Linked DNA regions of Homo sapiens: regions 1 and 2 are each linked to region 3. The links are contacts of gene promoters, found by promoter capture Hi-C in blood cells and fetal thymus (Javierre and others, 2016). All regions are on one chromosome and are shown on one strand. The core of a region is centred on a gene start or on the middle of the fragment in contact, and the rest is flanking DNA. Distances in the headings are between cores, read along the strand shown.

Region 1 (2,821 bases), core at 89-2,588, 450 kb before region 3:
TAAAGAATGTTATAAATATGAAGTCATACAGTATGTAACCTTTTGGGATTGGCATTTTGGCTTTTTTCACTCAGCGTAATTTTCTTGAGATTCATTTAAGTTGTTATGTGTGTCAATAGCTTATTCCTTTTTATTGCTGAGTAGCTTTCCAACTCATTCTCTTTTGCAGCTGCAGAATGTTTTATGTCTTTACTATCATTTTAACTTACAGAGTCTCTATTAATGGGTATTCATGCTCTCGTTTACTGTTATAAATTATGAATTTCACATATACTCAGTCATTCTGCAGCTTCCTGTACTTGCCTGATTTCTAGCAATGAAGGAAAATACCGATGGCACCATTTCATAGACATACTCAAAGGATGACAAGCACTTAAGGACCAGCACAGCACAGCGGTGAACTCTCAAGACAGTATGACAGTAATGAGATGACGAAGGCACATCTTGTTTCCTGGAAAATTCTGCATGATAGGAGACTGACAAAGCAAAGAACCATGATGTGTCTTAGAGAACCAGAATGGTCAGAGACTCTGATGATCCCCTGGTCCACACGTGACTGAGAGTTAATACCTTAGGTCACTGTTCTCAGAACCTGGATATTTATATGCACGTGCACCTCAGTGACTGATCCATTCTCAGTTTTCAGGTCCATTGCTTTCACATTTGAAATAGTCAAGGAGCATCTTTATGACTGGGGCTGAGCTTCTGCATTCATGTACAGCCCTCTGCCTGCCAGCAGTGCCTTGCATTTGTGATCCTACAAAGAGCCTGTGGACTTAATGGTTTACTGTATAGGGAAAGGCTTGACTTTGTGTCTTCTACTTAAGAAGCTTGAACTTTTTACCAAATATTCGTACTCCTTTTCCTGAAAATACTGATCTAGGCTACAGATCCATCTCTTAACCATATTTGAAAAATTGAAATAATATCTTCTGCCATAACTTGAAATTCCACTCTCAGATCTGTTATTTCTGACAGTGAGTTTGTATTTCTCAAGTAGATATGTCTGATGCTTATTTCTTTTACAGCATCTGGCTCAGTGCATGGCTCATATATCTGTAGAGTGAGTAAATACAGGGAATGTTTCCTATGTGTATGGCAAGGGTCACAGACTCAGGCAGGTAACAGATGAGCAAGGCAGAGGGTGGAGACTGGTAAACTAGACAACTAGATAGGTCAGGTCAATCGGGGGCAGCACCTGCTCAGCCATAGCAGATTGTGGCCATGTGGGGATATAGGTCTCATATTGCCAGATTTCCTGGGTTTTCAAGAAAAAGTGAAAAATCTGGATTTTTATGTGAGATCTTCCAGTATTTCAGCATCAGGTTCTTTTTGTTTGTGAGTGCTTTGGCCCTCACAGCCTGCCTGCCACATCTGACTTGTGGACTGCCGGCTTGAAACCTTTGATATTTAGAGAAGTGGTTAGACCTTAGAGTTGGTTCTGGTGAGATCCTTCTTGTTTTACAGATGAGGTTTCTGAGACCGAAAGAAGGGAAGTGACTTGCTCAAAGTCTCACTGTTACTCAGTGGCAAAACAAGACTAGAATTTGGGTTTCCTGGTCCATAACCTGTCACTTTCTTTTTTCTTAACTACAATACCTCCTTTATGAAGACCTTCATAAATTCTAGGATGGTGAATTCTCCTTTATTTTGTGTGTCGTGTGCAAGTGGACATGTGTGTATTTACTAAACTCTGTGGACCTGGAAATACATTCTGATATGACTATCAGGAACAATGTGATTACTTCTGAAACCAACTTCCTTAAACTCTCATGTATAAGGTAGCTATACACCTAGGATCCCTCTTAAACACTTACTACTTGGTTGGGTAATTCTCATGAATAACAGAAGCTTGAAAATTAACAGAGTATTGGATTCAGTGATTGTACAAGAGCAGTGGAGTTTTCTCCACAAAGTAGAGAAAATCATTTGTGTATTGTTATGCAAATAGCTTACAGAACTATTAATAATTTTGTTTTCTTTAATTTGTAATTTCTTATGTAACTAGTCCATTTGCTTTCACCCAGTGATGAGCATCTTACCTGCTTCACTCGGTAGCGCTCCATTCCTAATCTTTTTAAGGACAAATTCATCAACTTGGCGTTAAAGTCTATCAGTAACATGATCCCAGCTACTTCTCCAGATTCCTCTTGAGCTGTCCTTACTACATGTGCACTACACTGCAGCCACACTGTGTGACTTATTCCCTGGGGTTTCTATTGTTTCTGCCTTGCTTTTCTCATCCTTTAGATATTAGCATTATTGGCTGGGCACAGTGGTTCACACTTGTAATCCTAGCACTTTGGGAAGCTGAGGCAGGCAGATCACTTGAGCCCAGGAATTAGAGACCAGCCTGGGCAACAAAAATGTCGGCTGCAGTGAGCTGATACTGCTGTCCACCCTGGGCAACAGGGTGTGAGACCTCATCTCAAAAAAAAAAAAAAAAAAAAAAAGCCAGGCACGGTGGCTCATGCCTGTAATCCCAGCATTTTGAGAGGCCGAGGCAGGTGGATCATGCAAGGTCAGGAGTTTGAGACCAGCCTGGACAACATGGTGAAACCCCATCTCTACTAAAAATATAAAAATTTTCAGCTACTCGGGAGGCTGAGCCAGGAGAATCACTTGAACCCAGGAGGCAGTGACCCAAGATTACACCACTGCACTCCAACCTGGGTGACAGAGCAAGACTCCATCTCAAAAAAAAGATCGGTGGTGGGAGAAACTGTCCAAAGGCCCAGCTCACATGGTACTGCGTCCCTGAATCTGTTCCTCATCTTGTTCCCTCCCAGCTCTCACAGGCTTTGTTTGTACATGTCCTACC
Region 2 (2,729 bases), core at 192-2,691, 260 kb after region 3:
CCTAGGGATCAGCTCTTCATATCTGGGCCATGGGAGCTGTGAAATTAGATTGCGAGTCACATTAGCACCACGTCAATCCTCTCCACCCCAACCACCATTAGCACATCTTCTCTAAGTGAAGTCAGCATTATTCACATAAAATGTTATCCATTGACTACTGGTGCACAGTGTGATTGGGGTTTATGAGTTACTCGGGGTGATTATATGATGAAGACTCAATTCTTAGTGGGGGCGCTGGAGACCTTGCACCCTCTGTCCCCCAGCTCACTTCATATCACCCTCTTTTCCTCTGCACTGGCATCTGTCCCTTCCCCAAATCTCTGCGTGCTCCCTCCAGCCCAAGAGCCTTGCTCATTCTGCTCAGCCCTAACTGAAATGCTCTTACCCTTCTAGCTCATTCATTCCTACCTTTTGTCAAATACCAGCTTGGGGAAATTTTGCTTGATTCCCAGGCTAGATCAGAACTGCAATTTCAAATAGTTTCATAGCACCTCATGCCCTTCCTTTATACCCATTAACACAGACTGAAAATTTACATTTATCTATGTGGTTATTTGGTTAACATTTGTCTCTGTGACTGGACCATCCATTCTATAATGTCAGGGATTGCCAATGTTTTGCTCACCATTGTATTCTCAGCTCCTTGCACAGTAGCAAAGAGCCTACCACAGAGTAGAAATTCAATAAATATTCATTGGCTGAATGAATAAATGGATGGATGGATGGAACACAGTGCCTGCCTTCTAGGAATGTAAAATCCAAGCCAATTATTATTCTGACGATGGAATACAAATGACAAAATAAATATTCAGTTAACATATAAAAAGTAAGAATCAATCAGATATTTTAAGAGCAGGAATCAAGGGAAGGCATGTATTCTTGTGAAGATGGTAGAGATTAGGGATAGAGTCCCAGGTGGGGCTGGAAGAGGCGAGGGCAGGGAACTGTGTCTCCTCAGTCACAGTGTTATCTAGCTTTTAGTCTGTGTCTAGCTGTCACCTATTAGACAGAGGGAAAGACCAGGATCAAAGTAAAAGCAAGTTGGAATCCTGCACAAGGCCCTGTAGAAATAGATTAGCCCCAGTCCACCCTCATCGCCTATTTTCTATTACTCCAAATCCTGCTTCCATGGTAATGGAAGCTGGTTGGCCTGCCTTGCTGGTGGTTCATGCCTCTACACCCTACAAACACGAACACAACCTACGTACTGCTGTAATTGAATACCACAGACTCAGTAATTTACAAAGAAATGAAATTTATTTCTCACAACTCTGGAGGCTGGCCAGTCCAAGAGCATGGCACCAGTATCTGGCCAGGGTCATCCCATGGCAGAAGGGTGGAAGGCAGAAGTGAGCACATGAGACAGAGAGGGGAGCAGACCAAACTCCACCTTTTTATCAGGAACCCACTCCTGCAACAACCAACTCATTCCTGTGATAATGGCGTTAATCTATTCATGAGAGTGGAGCCCTCATGAGCTAATCACCTCTTAAAGGTCCTGCCTCTCAACACTGTTTCAATGGCAATTAAATTTCAGTATGAGTTTTGGAGGGCACATTCAAACCGAAGTGGCTCCAACCCCACATTTTCACTTGGGATTGCCCTAGTGGGGACTCTCTGAGGTGACCGTTCCCCTGAAGCAGATTTCTACTTGAGCTTCCAGGTGATCCATGACATCCTTTGAAATCTAAGCAGAGGAAGCCATGCTTCTATAGCCCTTGCATTTTGCATCCTTGCAGACTTAACACCAAATGTTTGCCATCAAGGTTTACCACCTATTCTTTCTGGAGCACCCAGGCTGCTTGAGCCACAGCTGGGAGGGCTGAGAGGCACTGTGCTGAAATTCAGGGAGCAGAGAGAGAGAGTTTCACTTTGTCACCCAGCCTGGAGTGCAGTGGCATGATTATAACTCACTGCAGCCTCGAACTCCTGGGCTCAAGGGATCCTCCTTCCTCAGCCTTCCAAGTAACTGGGACTACACATGCCACCACACCCAGCTAATTAAATTTTTTTTTTTTTTTTTAGAGATGAAGTTTCACTACATTGCCCAGGCTAGTGTTGAACTCCTAACCTCAAGTGATCCTCCTGCCTCAGCCTCCTGAGTTGCTGGGATTACAGGTGTGAATCACCATGCCCAGCTTGGGTAATTTGTAGGGAAAAAAAATTATTTCTCATAGTTCTGGAGGCTGGGAAATCCAAGAGCATGGCGCCAGCATCTGGCAAGTGTTATCCCATGGCAGAAGGGTGGAAGGTGGAAGCAAGCACATGAGACAGAAAGGGAAGTGAGCCAAACTCGTCTTTTTTATTGGGAACCCACTCCAAAGATAAACCCGCTTCTGTGACAATGACATTAATCGAGGGACCCATTAATCCATGAGGGCTCTGTCCTCATGACCGAATCACTTCTTAAAGGCCCCGCTTCTCAACTCTGTTACAATGGCAATTAAATTTCAACACGAGTTTTGGAGGAGACATTTAAACCACAGCAATCATTGAGAGAAGATGACAGAGACCAGATATCTACTTACATCGTGCCCAAAACCCCCAGTGGTGACTCATGGTGGACAGTTAAATGGCTGTCCAGATAGGCCATTCACTAACCCATGAGTGAGGGCAGAGACTATCTGTGTCTTGTTTACTGCTATATTCCTAGTGCCCAGCAGAGCAGATATGTGATATTTATAGGTTTGATAAATGAATTAATTAATCATAAATATAAATAATTCATT
Region 3 (2,700 bases), core at 106-2,605:
AGTCGGGGTCTCCTTATGTTGCCCAGGCTGGTCTAGAACTCCTAGGTTCAAGTGATCCTCCTGCCTTGGCCTCCCAAAGTGCTGGGATTACAGGCGTGGGCCACAGCGCCCGGCCCCCTTTTATTTTAAATCTAAAGAAGACTCGAGAAAAAAAACATTACGTCAGTAGTAGATTTAGGAGATGCACTACTAATACTACGTAAGTTTCTCTTGTGCTGCCTGGGAATAAAAATAAACACTTAACACTAACTTGGGGCTCACAACATGCTTGACACTGTTCCAAACACACACACACACACACACACACACACACACACACACACTCATTTTAAAAGTCCTCATCTACTCTTAAAGGTAGGTCCTGCTATTATCCTTATTTTTGTAGATAATAATATAGTCTGGGGCGCAGAGGTCTGCTCAAGATCATCCAACTGGAGTGGCAGCGCTGGAATTAGAGTCCAGGCAGTGTGGCTTCAATGCCTGAACTCTTAGCCATTAGAAAGGAAAAACAAAGCAAAATCAGTATCCGCAACAACCTTGCAGGCACGGAGGCCCTCAGAAGGGACAGGAGAGGCCGGGCGCGGTAATCCCAGCACTTTGGGAGGCCGAGGCGGGCGGATCACCTGAGGTCAGGAGTTGGAGACCAACCTGGCCAACGTGGTGAAATCCTGTCTCTACTAAAAATGTAAAAAATTAGCCGGGTACGGTGGCGCGCGCCTGTAGTTCCAGCTACTTGGGAGCCTGGGGCGGGAGAATCGCTTGAACCGGGAGGCAGAGGTTGCAGTGAGCAGAGATCGCGCCAGTGCACTCCAGCCTGGGCGATAGAGCGTGACTCCATCTCAAAAAAAAAAAAAAAAAAAAAAAAAAAAACAAAGGAAAAGAAAAAGAAGGGACAGGAGGGCCTCCTTCCGCTCCTGACCAGCCCCTGCTGGCCCGTGGGCAGAGGGAGAGCCGGCTTCCAGGGACCTCAGGGAGGGACGTTTGGGAGTGCTCTCTCAGCGTCCCCTCCACCGCCCTCTCTACACCCTTGCCGCGCCCCTGTCCTCGTCGGCCAGGCCAAGGTTTCTCCTGGCCCTTCCCAGCTTCCGGCCCTTTGCTCCAGGGCAGGTCGCAGGGCCAGACGGTGCCAGGAGCTCGCGAGTCCTCTGTTTACTGTTTGGTTTCCACGGTGACACGTAGGCGCCGTCAGCGACTCCCGTCACCGCCCCGCAGCGCGGCCCCCACCCGGCGCCGTGACGCCGGCCCGCCGCTTCCGCTCTGCCCATATTTGGCTCAGCCACTGCGCCGCCGGCCCGGGGTAGGCTGTGGGCGGGACTCCCGCCGCGCCCCGCCCCCGGTCCCTGCCCCGCCCCTGGAATGCTGGGCGAAGGCTCCGAGCCACGAGACCCCCGCCTCCTGTCCCGGGACCCACCCAGGCGGAGGCAAGGGCAGGGGCGCTGGGGGCCCAGAGAGAGGGCGCCGCGATGGATGAATGAGCTGTTTCCAGCATTCCTGTGCGTCTGCTGGTTGTAGCTGCAGTCAAGATTTGGGGCGGTCTCGTTTGTTGTGGGTGGGTGATCTGGGATCACGATTTTCTCACTCTGTGCCCGGAAATCATGCCATCTCTCGCCCAACGCTGTATTTTATAGGCTTCAACTCAAAATTTTCCTTCATGGCACAGTGGAAAGCTTTGAAGACGGCGGTTCTGGGGTCAGTGTTGCCCCTCGGGGGATAAGTGACCTTGGGAAGGCCATTTTCCTTTTCCTGGCATGATAAAACGAACCGTGGGGGTGGTCCATAATGGTTGCAGCACTGTCATCAGGCTTGTGAGGGGAGCTTTTCCATCACCCTCTAACCACCCCCTCCCCAGGACATAACTGGAATATCAGTGAAGTTCTTTGAGCATCGACCCCCTACAGTTCTGCCCCCTGTGGTGATTGGATTTGTGTGTCTCTGCACCTTGCTCCTATTAGGCGCTTAATGAACTTTAGTTAACTGATTATTGAATGAATAATACGAATCACCTTCATAAATCCGGACCCCTGCAATTCCTCTTCCAGGCCGGGCGAGGGGGAGGGTAGGGGATGGGGGAGAATATTGAGATGATTAATAATCGCGCGGCAGGGTTGCTGATGTAAAGCGATTTGCAGATCTAAAGGGCAATAAGCATTCCTGGGAGAAATCCAGCGAGATTCCAGAAGTCTCTGAGGGAGCCGTGGGTGTGTACCGCCGGGCCCAGAGGGCGGGGGTGGGGCAGGCAGTGCCGCAGTGGCCGCTGCTGGGGAGCCGATTGCAATTGCGAGGAGAAGCGTGGGGTTAATCCTTCAAGACGCCTGTCACCATCCTCCCACCCCCATCCCTGCCCCCTAGATTCCCCAGTTCCTCTGGCTGAAGGAGTGTGTGTTTTCCAGAGTTTCAGAGCTGGAAGTCACATCGGAGACTTTTAATCTAATTTAACCTATTTCGCCAACAGGGAAATTAAAGCTCAGAGAAGTTGGTTCGACCATCCAAACTTGCACAGCTAGTTAGAAACTGATAAAAGTCAGGATATCTAGCTTCAAATAGTGTTCCACATCGCCTAGGTGCTTCTAATTTCCTGTGCTTCAGAACCCTGTTGCCTGGCTCAGCTGGTGGGTTGTACATTTAGGCTAAATATTGACTTCAGGGCTCTTAAAGAACGCCATTGTCACGTCTGCTGCCACACGCAGCCCACACCATGAC

Evidence for each region. The method cuts DNA at HindIII sites, captures the fragments that hold promoters and counts their contacts. A CHiCAGO score of 5 or more calls a contact.
Region 1: a contact is called between a fragment that was not itself captured here and the fragment with the promoter of LINC01220 in region 3, in 2 of 17 cell types (activated CD4 T cells and total B cells). The highest score is 6.4, in activated CD4 T cells.
Region 2: a contact is called between a fragment that was not itself captured here and the fragment with the promoter of LINC01220 in region 3, in 1 of 17 cell types (activated CD4 T cells). The highest score is 9.2, in activated CD4 T cells.

Annotation. Positions count from the first base shown.
Region 1 is chr14:74,840,287-74,843,107 of GRCh38, forward strand. LOC105370569 (a long non-coding RNA gene) reads left to right here. Exons shown (of 2, transcript XR_944033.3): 2 at 315-1,733. Among named protein-coding and RNA genes, the nearest start is that of PROX2, 34 kb to the right of the region's middle. RefSeq lists an enhancer at 1,616-1,775. The HindIII fragment of the contact is 1,021 bases long and covers 829-1,849 here.
Region 2 is chr14:75,556,089-75,558,817 of GRCh38, forward strand. It overlaps LOC107984653 (a long non-coding RNA gene), which reads left to right and starts at 2,083. Exons shown (of 2, transcript XR_001750830.1): 1 at 2,083-2,118. The HindIII fragment of the contact is 4,794 bases long and covers 1-2,729 here.
Region 3 is chr14:75,293,049-75,295,748 of GRCh38, forward strand. It overlaps LINC01220 (long intergenic non-protein coding RNA 1220), which reads left to right and starts at 1,356. Exons shown (of 3, transcript NR_038421.1): 1 at 1,356-1,493; 2 at 1,629-1,689. RefSeq lists an enhancer at 924-1,063 and a silencer at 1,134-1,593. The HindIII fragment of the contact is 10,176 bases long and covers 1-1,665 here.